Regions from separate parts of the Homo sapiens genome. Here regions 2, 3, 4 and 5 are each linked to region 1. The links are contacts of gene promoters, found by promoter capture Hi-C in blood cells and fetal thymus (Javierre and others, 2016). All regions are on one chromosome and are shown on one strand. Each heading gives the region's core, a stretch centred on a gene start or on the middle of the fragment in contact. The rest is flanking DNA. Distances are from core to core; before and after follow the strand shown.

What was found. Contacts are between HindIII fragments. The CHiCAGO score rates a contact against its expected background, and 5 or more counts as called.
Region 2: a contact is called between the fragment with the promoter of PTCH2 here and the fragment with the promoter of MUTYH in region 1, in 8 of 17 cell types (endothelial precursors, M1 macrophages, total B cells and 5 more). The highest score is 10.5, in endothelial precursors.
Region 3: a fragment that was not itself captured here is called in contact with the fragment with the promoter of MUTYH in region 1 in 2 of 17 cell types (endothelial precursors and M1 macrophages); the score reaches 6.6 in endothelial precursors.
Region 4: a fragment that was not itself captured here is called in contact with the fragment with the promoter of MUTYH in region 1 in 16 of 17 cell types (naive CD4 T cells, naive B cells, M1 macrophages and 13 more); the score reaches 14.9 in naive CD4 T cells.
Region 5: a contact is called between a fragment that was not itself captured here and the fragment with the promoter of MUTYH in region 1, in 1 of 17 cell types (erythroblasts). The highest score is 5.8, in erythroblasts.

What each region holds. Positions count from the first base shown.
Region 1 is chr1:45,338,603-45,341,368 of GRCh38, forward strand. It overlaps MUTYH (mutY DNA glycosylase), which reads right to left and starts at 1,368. Exons shown (of 16, transcript NM_001048174.2): 1 at 1,297-1,368. TOE1 (target of EGR1, exonuclease) reads left to right here and starts at 1,568. Exons shown (of 8, transcript NM_025077.4): 1 at 1,568-1,702; 2 at 2,471-2,613; 3 at 2,701-2,741. The coding sequence starts at 1,651. RefSeq lists enhancers at 890-1,557, 1,558-2,226, 1,579-1,928, 2,227-2,766. The HindIII fragment of the contact is 741 bases long and covers 1,049-1,789 here.
Region 2 is chr1:44,841,922-44,844,687 of GRCh38, forward strand. PTCH2 (patched 2) reads right to left here and starts at 1,332. Exons shown (of 22, transcript NM_003738.5): 1 at 940-1,332; 2 at 1-118. The coding sequence starts at 1,011. RefSeq lists a silencer at 1,278-1,547. The HindIII fragment of the contact is 9,661 bases long and covers 1-2,766 here.
Region 3 is chr1:44,862,013-44,864,778 of GRCh38, forward strand. All of the region lies in intron 10 of EIF2B3 (eukaryotic translation initiation factor 2B subunit gamma), which reads right to left. Among named protein-coding and RNA genes, the nearest start is that of PTCH2, 20 kb to the left of the region's middle. The HindIII fragment of the contact is 4,199 bases long and covers 1-2,766 here.
Region 4 is chr1:45,017,946-45,020,711 of GRCh38, forward strand. ZSWIM5 (zinc finger SWIM-type containing 5) reads right to left here. Exons shown (of 14, transcript NM_020883.2): 12 at 2,680-2,766; 13 at 2,121-2,202; 14 at 1-1,371. The coding sequence ends at 509. Among named protein-coding and RNA genes, the nearest start is that of UROD, 7.1 kb to the left of the region's middle. The HindIII fragment of the contact is 2,051 bases long and covers 326-2,376 here.
Region 5 is chr1:45,038,840-45,041,605 of GRCh38, forward strand. ZSWIM5 (zinc finger SWIM-type containing 5) reads right to left here. Exons shown (of 14, transcript NM_020883.2): 7 at 1,553-1,699; 8 at 97-234. Among named protein-coding and RNA genes, the nearest start is that of UROD, 28 kb to the left of the region's middle. The HindIII fragment of the contact is 2,198 bases long and covers 346-2,543 here.

The sequences.
Region 1 (2,766 bases), core at 118-2,617:
GTTGATTGGTGTGTGTCCAAAGTCAGTGCCAGGTAAACTGTACACAATAGATACCTGTTAAATGAATTAATGGGATGGGGGATAGTCAAAAGAGTTTCCCTTTTTTAGGATAGGAGAAATCCAAAGAGTTTTTTTATTTTTGTTTTTTTTTTGTTTGTTTGTTTTGTTTTTAGAGACAGTGTGTCCCTCACTTTGCTGCTCTGCCACTCAGGCTGGAGTGCAATAAGAACATGGCTCACTGCAGCCTCGACCTCCTGGGCTCAAGCCATCCTCTCACCTCAGCCTCCTGTAGCTGGGACTACAGGTGCGCACCACCATGCCCAACTAATTTTTAATTTTCTTTTTGTAGAGACAAGGTTTCACTATGTTGCCCAGGCTAGTCTTGAACTCCTAGGGTCAAGCGATCCTCCCACCTTGGCCTCCTAAGATGATTACAGGCCATAAGCCACTGCGCCCGGCCCAAGCAGTTCTGAATAATGATGAAATGGGCTCAGTTGAGAGAAGCTGAAGATTAACTATAAACAATGAGTAACAAAGGAGCACTGGAAGGCAGAGGTGGATGGGAATCGTAGTGTTTACGGAGGGACTAGTCTCCAATAGGAATTTTTTTTTTTTTTTTTTTTTTGAGACGGAGTTTCGCTCTTGTTGCCTAGGCTGAAGTGCAAAATGGCGTGATCTCGGCTCACCGCAACCTCTGCCTCCCAGGTTCAAGCGATTCTCCTGCCTCAGCCTCCCAAGTAGTGGGATTACAGGCGCCCGCACCATACCCAGCTAATTTTTTTTGTACTTTTAGTAGAGACGGGGTTTCACCATGTTGGCCAGGCTGGTTTTGAACTCCGGACCTCAGGTAATCCGCCCGCCTCGGCCTCCCAAAGTGCTGGGATTACAGGCGTGAGCCACCGCGCCCGGCCTAGGAACCTCTTTCAAATTCAATCACCCTCTAGGTCGACTATACCGCCTAGCTGCTTCACAATTTGTCCCTTCCTCGCCATCCATACTGCCAGCCTTAATTCAAGTTCACATTATCACTTGATTGGATTATTACAAAAGCTTCCCTACCAATCGGTCGCTCTTACACCCTGGGCAGCCTCCTCCGATGGCCCACTCCCCGCCTCTTTCACTTTCTGGAGATCACTGAGCTCTCCATCCTCTCTGGGAATTTACCGATGCCCAGAACGCCCTTCTTTCCCCCACACGACCCTCTCCTAGTCTAACTCCTGGGCGTGCTTTAAGCTCAGCTCAGGCAGCGTCACCTTCTCTGGAAAGCCCAAACCCAGCCACCCCACTACCCGCTACCCGCGGCCCACGCTGATGAAGACAGCAGAACACGGAGGCCCCGCGTTCCCGCCGCGAGAGCAGGAGAGAAAGATTACCTCCCGCGAGCTCTAGCGCGCCCGGCTTTCCGGCGCACTCCAGGGGGCGTGGCTCGGGTCCACCCGGGCTGCGAGCCGGCAGCACAGGCCAATAGGCAATTAGCGCGCGCCAGGCTGCCTTCCCCGCGCCGGACCCGGGACGTCTGAACGGAAGTTCGACCCATCGGCGACCCGACGGCGAGACCCCGCCCCATCCCCGACTGCCTGAACCGCGCCAGGAGACGGACCGCAAGTCCAGCGTACCCACAGACGACTCAGGCGGGAGACGAGCGGTGTCATGGCCGCCGACAGTGACGATGGCGCAGTTTCAGCTCCCGCAGCTTCCGACGGTGAGCGGCTTCCCAGAGGTAGCCTTCAAAGCCTCTGCGCTCTGGGAGAGGGGAAGGCCTCGGGCTCATAGTTCTAGAGGCTCCTCAAGCTTCAGAGGACTGCTCCTTCCGCCTGAACTAGCCACGAGGAGACTACAAGTTCCGTTGTACACCGCGGCTCCGGCTGCAAAAGCCTGGAGCGTTGGGAGCATGGGGCTGATGGAGGCATGGCGGGAGATGTAGTCTGGAGCTCATAACGGTTAGTAGTAATAGTTGTGATTCAGTTCAGTGGAGTGGATTGAGCGTTGTGATCCAAAGGAAGGTAGGACGTATTGGGAGCTCTGGTGTGGGGCACTGCCAGGCTCTGGGGCTTACTGGGAGCTGTTGCTTGTGGCGCTGGGGCACCATGAGAACAGTAGTATGGATCCCTGTGGGATATTAAGGGAGCTGAGATCCTCAAGCCCTACAAAATGTTTCCTGCAGGACATGGGAAAAAAGAATCAAAGGTCGTCTAGTCCAACTTTCTCCTCTACAGATTGTGAAAGCGAGGTGGGAAGTAATTTACCCAGGCTCATACAAGCCAGTAGAAGACTCAGGCTTCCTCTCCCCAAATTCAGGGCATTCTCCACTCCAAGGCCTGTGTGTAGAACACGTGGGTTACAAAGGCTTGTGGGAAAAGCTACCAATGGAAACTACCCCCCTTACCACCATCACCGTGGCCTAGCTTGGTGTCTGTTCCCCTGGGCTCTTTCCTTAAGCATGAACATCCATCACCCTCCTAACCCCCAGGTGGTGTCAGCAAAAGCACAACATCTGGGGAGGAGCTAGTAGTCCAGGTTCCCGTAGTGGATGTGCAAAGCAACAACTTCAAGGAGATGTGGCCATCCCTCCTGCTAGCCATAAAGACAGCTAATTTCGTGGCTGTGGACACGGTGAGAGTTGGGAAACAAGGAGGGCAGGTGGTTGTGAAGGGGCTGGTGCTAGAGGCCTGTCACAACTCTCCCTTTACCTACCCACAGGAGCTGAGTGGGCTTGGGGACAGGAAGAGTTTGCTGAACCAGTAAGTATAAGCCCTTTTCTCTTTA
Region 2 (2,766 bases), core at 82-2,581, 500 kb before region 1:
ACAGTCCCAGAAAGAGCACTTTGCCACAATGTCTCTGGATCCCGCATCCCAGAGAGAAGAGCAGGCCCTGGAAGTAAGCACGAAGCCAGAGTGGAGCCTTCAGGCTCCCAGCTAGGATCTGGGATGGAAAGAGAAGGGTCAGCCAGGCATCACTGCAACAATGCATGAAATCCTTCCCTTCTCACCCTGTATATCTGCTGCCCAGCCCTCGCTTCTTGATTTCTGGATGTGGGACAGGGAGCACCAACACAGACACAGGCCCAGACTTGGAAGATGTAACACCCACCATCCCCAGCACACACCTGAGGAAGGCATAGGCCTATTTTCCTTTCTTTTCTTTTTGTTTTCTCTCCTTTTTTTTTTTTTTTTTTTTTTTGAGACGCAGTCTCGCTCTGTTGCCCTGGCTGGAGTGCAGTGGTGTGATCTCGGCTGACTGCAACCTCCGCCTCCCAGGTTCAAGAGATTCTCCTGCCTCAGCCTCCCGAGTAGTTGGGACTACAGGCGCCCGCCACCACGCCCTGCTAATTTTTTATTTTTAGTAGAGACAGAGTTTCCCCATGTTGGCCTGGCTGGTCTCGAACTCCTGACCTCAGGTAATCTGCCTGCCTCAGCCTCCCAGTGTTGGGATTACAGGCGTGAGTCACCGCGCCCGGCCGGCATAGGCCCATTTTCTGAGAGCAGGATACATATGTACACACACCTGTCGTCGGGTGGACACAGAGGTGAACCCACAGACATTCATTCTCACTGGCCAGACGATGAGGAGACACCGGCACAGACACACCGACACACACGCACAACTTGCTTGCGGTGCTGGCTCTCACTTGCCTTCAGACATCTAATGACACTCGGCACTTCAAGACATCACAAACCTTGCAGAGGCCCGAGTGACAGACCTGGCTCCGCTCTCTTCCTTCTTCCAGCTCCCCCTCTACTCACCTGGGGTGCTGCGGTTCGAGCTGGGGGTGTGTAACTCGGGGGCAGCTCTCTGAGGGGCGGCGATCGAGTCATGCTGGCGGGGATGGGGGGCGCGGGCGCCCCCAACCCGCGTTATCTGGGCGCTCCCATAGGCTAGCCCGGTCTCCCGGTACCGCTGGGCCCCGCGTAGGGATTCAGTGGGGCCGCCAAGGCGCGGGCGTGGGAGAGACTGTGGGGTGTGGGTGTTAAAGCGGCTGGGAGGGAGGAGTGCAGGGAGCTGCGGGTCCGGGGCGCGGCGCCGGGATTCACCCGCTCCGTGGGCCGTGGGCCGCGGCGGCTGGAGGAGGAATGGGTCCCGCGCGCAGGCGGAATTGCTGGCCCGAGACGCACAGCAGGGCTCGAGGTGGCAACTGCAGTCCCCGGGAGGCGGCTGGAGCTCCAGAAAAGGGAGCTGGCCGGGGCGACGCCCTCCCATTGGCTGAGGGGCCCGCAAATTACCCTAGCCGCGCGGCCCGGCCCGCTGCTAGGTAACGGCGCCGCAGGGGGCGGGGCGGGAGACCACCCAGGCTGGGCCACCCCGCGCCTCCCTCCCGCCCGCGGGGCCCCAGGGAGGAGGAGGGAGGGGGATCCCGGAGAGGCGCAGCGCCGGCCAAGTGTAAGTCCAGAGGCTTACGCTGAGAAAGGGCCTTTGCGGGCTCTGTTAGGGATACACTTTTTTTTTTTTTTTTAAGACGGGGTCTCACTCTGTCACCCAGGCTGGAGTGCAGTGGCTCCATCTCGGCTTGCAGGCTCCGCCTTCCAGGCTCAAGCCATCCTCCCACCTCAGCCTCCCGAGTAGCTGGGATCACAGGCATGCACCACCACGCCCGGCTTTTTGTATTTTTGGTAGAGAACGGGTTTCGCCATGTTGCCCCGGTTGGTCTCAGACTCCCGAGCTCAGGATATCCGCCCGCCTCAGCCTCCCAAAGTGTTGGGATGACAAGCGTGAGCCACCGCGCCCGGCCTAGGGCCACAATTTCTTTTTCTTTTCTTTTTTTTTTTTTTCAGGCTTAATTCACTTTATTTTTCTTGTATAAAAACCCTATGTTGTAGCCACAGCTGGAGCCTGGATCCTCTGCGCGGAGACTCTGGTGTGGGTCTTGACGAGGTGGTCAGTGAATTCCTGATAGGGAGACTTGGTGAATACAGTCTCCTTCCAGAGGTCGGGGGTCAGGTAGCAGTAGGTCTTAGAGATGGCATCAAAGTGGGTAGGGCCACACTTTCTTTCCGACCCAATCAAAGCCCAAGATTTCTTCTGTTCACTCTTCCCGGCTTCCATTCTTGCCCTCTTCAGTCCACTCTCTCCACTGAGACCAGAGTCATTTCTCTAACATGCAAATCTGATAGCTCCAAAGCACAAGGCCCACTTGGAGCACAGGGCCCTGTGTGATCTAGCTAAAGCCTTCTCTCCCATAGTTCCCTCACATCAGTGTTCCCTCGTTCCTGCCTTTGTACATGTTTTGGTCCTTTTGTCTTGGCAGATAATCTTCAAAAACTGAACTTGAATCACCCCCAAAACCCACCTTTTTTTTTTTTTTTTTGAGGCAGGATCTCCCTCTGTTGCCCAGGTTGGAGTGCAGTGGTGCCTTCACAGCACACTGCAGCCTTGAGCTCCCAGTCTCAAGGGATCCTCCCACCTCGACCTCCCAAATGGCTGGGACTACAGGTGTGCACCACCACACCTAGCTAATTTTTGTAATTTTGTATAGACAGGGTTTTGCCATGTTGCCCAGGTTGGTCTCAAACTCCTGGGCTCAGGTCATCTGCCCACCTGGGCCTTCCAAAGTGCTGGAATTATAGGCGTGAGCC
Region 3 (2,766 bases), core at 123-2,622, 480 kb before region 1:
GTTCATGCTACAGGGAATGGAAAGATAGGACCTTATCAAACAAACCCTCTCTAGGTTGCCAATTGGCAGCAAGGACTCTGTCTTTTCTGTTTAGTGCCTAAGGAGAGAGAAGAGGTGAGTTCCTATAGTCCAACAAAAGAGCTTGTTCCAGACTAGAATTACAGCTTCTGCATCCTAGTTTTAACTCTCAGGTTGGCACGAAGCACTCCGCTGTGCTAATGTCTAGCTGTGTTCTCTAAGACGCTGCTCAGTGATGGCTAAGACTAATGGAGACTTGGTCCTCATTTCTCCTTGGTAGGTTCAAATTTCAAGCACAGAGGCAGGCTTTGCAAAATTACTCTGAAAACTGTAACGTTTCAGTGGAAAGGAGGCCATGAGAAAAACAGAGTACTACAGTAAGATCACTGCTTGGCCAGGCACACCACACTATACTATGTTGTGGCATATCACCTGAGGAAGAAGGCTAACTGAGAAGCAAGAGTGCCTCCAAATTCTTGCTCCTCTTCTGGCTTTAGGTAGGACTTCTTTCAGTTATTTCAAGGGAGGAAAGGGAACTCACATATATCTAATGTCTAATACATCTCAGTCATTATATAAAGCACTTTACACTCATTTATTATTATTATTTTTTGAGATGGAGTCTCACACTGTCGCCCGGACTGGAGTGCAGTGGCGCGATCTCGGCTCACTGTCTCCTGCCTCAGCCTCCCAAGTAGCTGGAATTACAGGCATCTGCCATCATGCCCGGCTAATTTTTTGTATTTTTAGTAGAGATGGGGTTTCATTATGTTGACCAGGCTGGTCTCGAATGCCTGACCTCATGATCTACCCGCCTCAGCCTCCCAAAGTGTTGGGATTACAGGCGTGAGCCACTGCACCCAGCCTACACTCATTTTATAACTGAATCCTTTCAGCAAACTTGCAGGGATGGTGGTATTTATTCCAATTTTTACAGAGAAAATTGAGACTCACAGATGTTAGGCAATGTGCACAGGCCTAAAGTGACACTCCACTGTATCACGGGCTCCTGCTTCAGATATTGACTTAGAGAATATTCGGCAAAGAGCCATGAAACTTCTCAGTAACTGAGGATGGGGAGGTTCTTTTCTTTTTTGATGAGTTGACAGGCTTTCTAAACTACTCATGACCCTGGGGGAAGAAAAGAGAATGAAACTGAAGATATGTGTAGCTTTTCTAGGCATGTGACTAAGGTCTGCTCTAGGCCAACTCAACACTTTGGCCGAAAGATTATGGCTGAGTCACCCATAATCTCTCTAGGTACTGGGAGCCTCCTAACCTAAGCCCTTCTAAGCTGGTCCAAGTATCTCTCTAGAGAAAGAATCATGTGTTATTTTTATTAAAAGTTATTTTTTATTATTTATAATTTAAAACAATTCTTTTTGGTAGAGATGGAATTTTGCTATGTTGCCCAGGCTGGTCTCAAACTCCTGGCCTCAAGTGATCCTTCTGTCTCAGCCTTCAAAGTGTTGGGATTACATGTGTGAGCCACTGCATCTGGCAACCATGTATTATTTTTAATGAAATATTTTAAGTATAGAAAAAAACCTAGAGAATAATATAAAGAACGCCTGTGTATCCACCAAACAGCTTGAGAAACAAACAATCCAACTTGCTAAGCATCTTTCTTTCATCCCATTTCCTTCCTTCTTCCACCAGGGTATCCATTATTGGACTGTGGTGTTTCTTGTTCCTAAGTATTTTTACTACATTTATTAAACATACAATATTTTTAATGTTTTAGAATTGTACATACATGTTACCGTTCTGTGTATCCTTCTGCAACTTGCTTTCCCCTCTTCAACATCATATTTGTGATTTATCCAGGTTAATTCAGGTAATGATATATATAATACTTGAAGAAATGATCTTACCTTTTCCCTGTTTCTGGTCACTCTTGCTCTTGGGTCCTCTAGATTAAAAGGTACTGACTCCAGTGAGCAGGCTGAAAATTTCCTCCTTTTAGTTCTGTATGCCCCCCTTCACTATATAAGATTTTGTGGTGAGAAATGGCTCCCTCCTAAGAAATCTAAGTCCTTGTATTCCCTAAGCAGAGGCTAGGGAGTTTAGGGGAAATCAAAGCAAAGATGTAACAGCCTTAAAGAGTTAAGCTGCAGAATTCTTCATCTAAGATGGGTTTAGTGCAAATGGTTCAAAGGTAGGGAATGAACCAAAAGCCATTAGGAGCCCCTTTAATCCAGGGGATCTTCCCAAAGTGTCATAATTTGGTGTTTTTAAGAGTATGACAGAAGTGCTGGGCTCGGTGGCTCATGCCTGTAATCCCAGCATTTTGGGAGGCTGAGGCGGGTGGATCACCTGTGGTCAGGAGTTCAAGACCAGCCTGGCCAACATAGCAAACCCCGTCTACTAAAAATACAAAAATTAGCCTGGCGTGATGGTGTGTGCCTGTAGTCCCAGCTACTCGGAAGGCTGAGGTGGGAGGATAGCTTGAACCCAGGAGGCAGAGGTTGCAATGAGCCAAGATCATGCCACTGCACTCCAGCCTGGGTGACACAGCGAGACTCTGCCTCCAAAAAGAATTCTTTTAACAATTATGTACTTTTCTGCAACTCTAATTACCTCTAATTGGACTTATATTTAAGAGGATTCACTTTTATACCTTAAACTATCCATTTTCATTTCTTCCTTGGCTATATTATGTCTTCAGGTAGAGTTTTCCAGAGGGTTCATGGGTGACACAGGTCCTGAGCCCTGGAATACTTCTGATGCTTTTACATAGCAACCATA
Region 4 (2,766 bases), core at 101-2,600, 320 kb before region 1:
CTGAGAAATGGTTGTGAGTCTCCTCAGAAAATAAGCATATCCTCCTACCCACAGCTACTTCAAGTGCCCATCAAATCAGAAGCAGAATTATAAATAGTTACAAGTTTACAATAATTAGCAACACATATAGTATTTACAGTCCCACAAATGTGTCTGTTTCTCTGGTTAAGCAATCCCTGAGATGGAACAGTGTTCTGTGTTTGCCAAGGGAGACAGGGCCAATGCTCAGGACACGCAGGATATAGGGGCATGAGGTGGCATGTTGTGGGGTTTCTGGTCGATCTGCAGGGCCCAGCTCCTCCATGAACAGTAGGCTGTAGTCAGAAGCTTGCCAAGGTAGGCATTATCGACTAGAGCTGGACTTTCCCCATCCTTAGCCCTGTGGTCCTTTGGCCTCATCCACAGGTGCTCAGAGTTCTCTCAGGGTGGACAAATGTTTCAGTGCCCTTGGCCTGACCTGATACTACCTGGGAACCCAGGCTGCTCTGGCAGTGAGCTATCTGCTCTCTCAGCCAAAGCGCTCTCGCACCAGCAGCATCAACTTTTTCTTGCCTTTGTAGATCTGTTTGAGGTTGTCGATGAACTGGGCAAACTGCAGGTGGCCATCCTGGGGCAGCAGGAAGGTCTCCCGAGCCTTGCTTAGAAACTCAATGAACTCTCCATAGTGGCGAGGGCTGATGTGTGTTAGGCGTGAGTGTGTAGTGTTGATATAGGCATTGATGGTGGCATCCAGCAACTGGCGCAATGGAGCTTTGTCAGTGGACATGAGCTTTCCAGAGCTTCGGCGGCCTGGGATGCCGGCCAGGCCAGGTGCAGTCACTGTGCAGCGTCGTAAGATGTCTGAAAGCACTGTGGCACAGTGCACACTCTTCACCACCAGGGGGATGAGAGCTGCCAGCTCATTCTTGCCCAGAGAGTGGCTGAGAGCACAAGCCCAGAGCACATCATTGATGGCTGGGTGAGTATCCTGGTTGTAGGCCAGGTTAAGATGGCTCATGGCCAATGAGGCCAGCTTGAAGGCACGTAGCGGGTAGCCACGGAGCTCCATGTAGCGGGCGATGGTGAACAGCTGTGAATGGGTCATACCACCAGCAGCAGCATCAATGGCAATCTGGTAGGCTGCCTCAAAGGCAATGTGGTCTTTCTCACAGAGTGTAAGGGCTGACAGGGCACAGCTCTGTGGATCCTTCATAGCACACTGTAGAGCCAGTGTGCGAGCACAGCTAGCCAGTTCCTCCCGCTGTGGATAGTCAAGACTGAGGCGCAGGATAGTGGTGTGGGATACGGCTGTGGCAGCTACAATACTAGTAGCCTCAGTAGGGGTGAAGAGTGTGTACCAGCTCTGCAAGATGCTCACCAGGGCCCGCACACCTGTCAGGGGGAGCCTGAGCTCAGCCGTGGCCATCTGGGTCCTGATTCAGGTCTACCCAGATTACCATTTGGGGTTTGAACTTGGCCTGCAGAGATGAATTCTTCCTCCTCAGCAACCTTGAGATGATATGAGGCAAACCAGGGCAAGGGGAGCATCCCAGATGGCCAGACCCTGTTTGGGGTCTCTTCCTATCCCTTCTTTCCCCAGGTCAGAGAGTTGAAGGTTTCTGCAGGTGCTCTTAGCCCCTCACAAGGATGGGACAGTAGAGCCTGGGGTTTGCTTGCCCTGAGGCATGGGTTACAGATCTGCCAGGGGTTCTAGCTGAAGTGGGGCCTCTCAGGGTAGAGTCTTGTGCTGGGGCTTTGGGCTTTAGAAAGGGTCCTGAGCCTCTAAGTTGTCTGGAGTTTTTTACAAGCATGCACAGGGATGGGGACCAAACCACTGGGCCCACTACCTCCCAAGGGAGCACTTGAGTAGCAACTGAAAATTCATTCTCTTAGACATGTCTCTGTTGAGAGGATCAAGGGCTGCTGACATCAGGATATGGTTCAAGCAGTGAAGACAGGGCTTGGGCTGGCTGAACAGAGGCCACCTTCTCCTACCAGCAGCCCCATCCTTTCTTAGGCCATCTCCTGATGGACCTAAGATCTCATAGGAATATGAGAGCTCTAAGGATTGATTGTCCTGTCCCAAGAGTAGGGCCTAGAAACTCCTTTCCCCTGGGGGTAGAGGGAGGTGGGAGACTCACCCACTTCTGTAGCACAGGTCACCAACCATCGTACCATCTCCCTGCGTCTCCAGTTAAGGGTTGATAAGGTCATCCGCATCACCTGGGCACAAAAGAGGCCTTTCCAGTGGGCTATGCCTAACTGTTGTGACCTCTCCCTCCCCTTGCATTCATTTATGCGACAAATATTTTCTGGTGCTTTAAACAGTGGTCTCTCCGCTGATAAACATAAAATACAGTTAATTTCTTTCCCAGCCCTCCCACCAATCAGATAGGAAGCTTCTCTGATGATCTGCAGCAAAGTCCTTATTATCATACCTTGCTTGACTTGTAGAAATGGGGAGGTAGAGAGAAGATAGGGACCCCAGGGAGCCTAAAGCTTTATCTTGCTTCTGGCCTTAACTTAAAAGTGGAGCCCAATTTATGAAATCCTTGCCTTTTCCCTAGCCTAGAACTTGTGTTCTGGGCCCAAAGGAAGAGCCAGACTTGGCCTATGCCCAGTCTCCCAGAGATCTTATCTTCTGCCAACTGTCACTAGGTCAGCGGTCTAAACTGTGGATGGCCTACTCTTCCTCCATACCTGTAACCCAAGTTCCAGGGCAACGTTGAGCAGGGTGCTGTCAGTACTACTGTCGGTGGGAGTAGCAATCTTGAATGCATCTTGGGC
Region 5 (2,766 bases), core at 195-2,694, 300 kb before region 1:
CCCACCTTGGCCTCCCAAAATGCTAGGATTACAGGTGTGAGCCACCATGCTAACCAACAAGGGCAGTCTTGGTTTGCCTCAGGCTGACCCCTGTACCTGACATCTCCAGATAGCCATCATCATTCAGGCGGCAGGCCTCAGTCAAAGTGAGAAACAGGCAGTCGATGGGATCCAGGGGGTGGCCCACCCAGCCCTCCAGGTTTGTGATGGTTGTGGTTCCTCTCTGCAACAGTTCTGGAAACAAGCAGGTTAAAATTTTAGACAGTGATAGAGACAAACTGCTGTCTGTCCCTGCCTGGGTCTTCTTATCAGTCTCTCCAGCCTTGACCCTGAGAGTCAAATAAAAGCTTCTCTATTGTCTTGCCTTGGGTTGATACGGCTGGCCACAAACATACCAGCCAGCTATAAGGTCACGTGGTCTGCATTTGGGTTGCCTGCTGGTAGTGCATACGTGGATAGAGCTTTACAGGTTTTTGTTTTAAGAGATACCTGAGTCTTCTGAATAGTTGGGACTACAGGCACATGCCACCATGCCCTGTTAATTTTATTTAAAAATTTATTTTTGAGACAGAGTCTCGCTCTATCGCCCAGGCCAGAGTGCAGTGGCGTGATCTTGGCTCATTGCAACCTCCGCCTCCTGGGTTCAAACAATTCTCGTGCCTCAGCCTCCAGAGTAGCTGGGACTACAGGCATGTGCCACTATGCCTGACAATTTTTGTATTTTTGATAGAACTGGGGTTTCACTATGTTGGCCAGGCTGGTCTTGAACTCCTGGCCTCAAGTGATCCACCCGATTCACCCTACCAAAGTCCTGGGATTACAGGCGTGAGCCACTGTGCCTGGCATATTTAATTTAATTTAATTTAATTAATTATTTATTTTAAGACGGAGCTCTGCTCTTGTTGCCCAGGCTGGAGTGCAATGGTGTGATCTCGGCTCACTGCAACCTCCGCCTCCTGGGTTCCAGCGATTCTTCTGCCTCAGCCTCCCAAGTAGCTGGGATTACAGGCACGCGCCACCACGCCCAGCTAATTTTTTGTATTTTTAGTAGAGATGGGGTTTCTCCATGTTGGTCAGGCTGGTCTCGAACTCCCGACCTCAGGTGATTGCCTGCCTCGGCCTCCCAAAGTGCTGGGATTACAGGCGTAAGCCACCATGCCTGGCCTTTATTTTATTTTTGTAAAGATAGGGTCTCACCATGTTGCCCAGGCTGGTCTCAAACTCCTGGCCTCAAGCAATCCTCCTACCTGGGCCTCCCAAAGTGCTGGGATTATAGGTGTGAATCACCATGCCTGTCCACAGCTTTAGAGTTTAAAAATGGTCTTCTCATACCAGATCTTAATGAGCCTTCTAACTGCCTTATGAGGGAGGCAAACAGGTATTATTCCCAAATGAACAGATGAGAAAACTGACATTCATAAAGATAAAGTGAGGCATTCCACACAGCAAGGAGAATGACCCGGAATTCCCTAGTTCTTCTGGGCCTTGTATCCCCTGAGGATCCTCATCAGCTTTGGGCCTAAGGGGGTTAGATGGCTCCTAATTACTATACCTTTCTTCTGATGCTTGTAGATTTCCAGTTGCCGCTGCTGCTGCAACCTCAGAGTATTAATAATGGCCACTGTGAGTCTGAGGGCCTCTTTTGGATAACCATGGGAACGCAGGGCGTCAACTCGAGCACAGGCTGTAGGCACATGCTCTACCAAGTAAGAAGAAGATATTTTGGTCTAGTTAAAATTTCAAGTCAGGAAAATTTATACCTGACAAAGAGAGTTTGTATTCAGTCCAGTTCCTCAAATTCAACCTGACACCTACTGTATACCAGGAACTGTGTCTTTATCTTTAAGGATATAAAAAGTTGAATAAATCACAGGTGATATCTTGAAAGAGCTACCTTGCAGCCTCAGCGTGGTCTATGGTGTAGAAAGGGACACACAAGTAGGATAATAAAATGTAGTTTCTCTTTGCAAACATATATTATACTATGGGAAACCAATGGAGGTAGCAACTAACTGCCTAATGGGAAAAGTCTCATTCATTTAATTAATCCTACATTTCCTGAAAACCTATTAAATGCCAGGGAGTATGCTGGGCAAAGAAAGTACAAAGATGAATAGGAAATGGTCATTGCCCTCAAAGAGCTCACAAATGATACATAAATGTAATTATAAAGCAGCTAAAAAGAAGTAACATGATAGAAATATATACAGAGAGAAAATAATATTTGAGCTGTGCTTTGAAGGACAAGTAAGATTTCAAACAGGTAGACAAACAGGGAAAGACATTCCTGACAAAGGAAACATAAGCAAGGGCATATTGTAAAAGCATAAAAATTATTCAATATATTAATAGCATCCATCTTCAGAGTATGGCAAATAGTTCCATGTAGTTAGAATTATGTTATGTGGCCTAAGATAGCCTGGAAAAGGTAGAGTCTGGAATGTAAACAGCTGTGAATGCCATTCTATGGAGTTTGAATTTACCTTAGGGATAATGGAAGACTACCAAACCAAAGACTTACAAATAGGTGAGTAACTATAACAAGCTTTATGGTTTATTTTGTGCTTTTTTTCTTAAAGATAAAATTAAAAATTATAGAATTGCGGAAAATTTGAAAATACATATAAAGAAATATAAAATAAAAATCAGAAATAATCACTCTTTCCAGTGTCATGTATATTTACTCACACTTTTCTAGTAACTTTTTTTTTTTTTTAGATGGAGTCTCACTCTGTCACCCAGACTGGAGTACAGTGGTGTGATCTC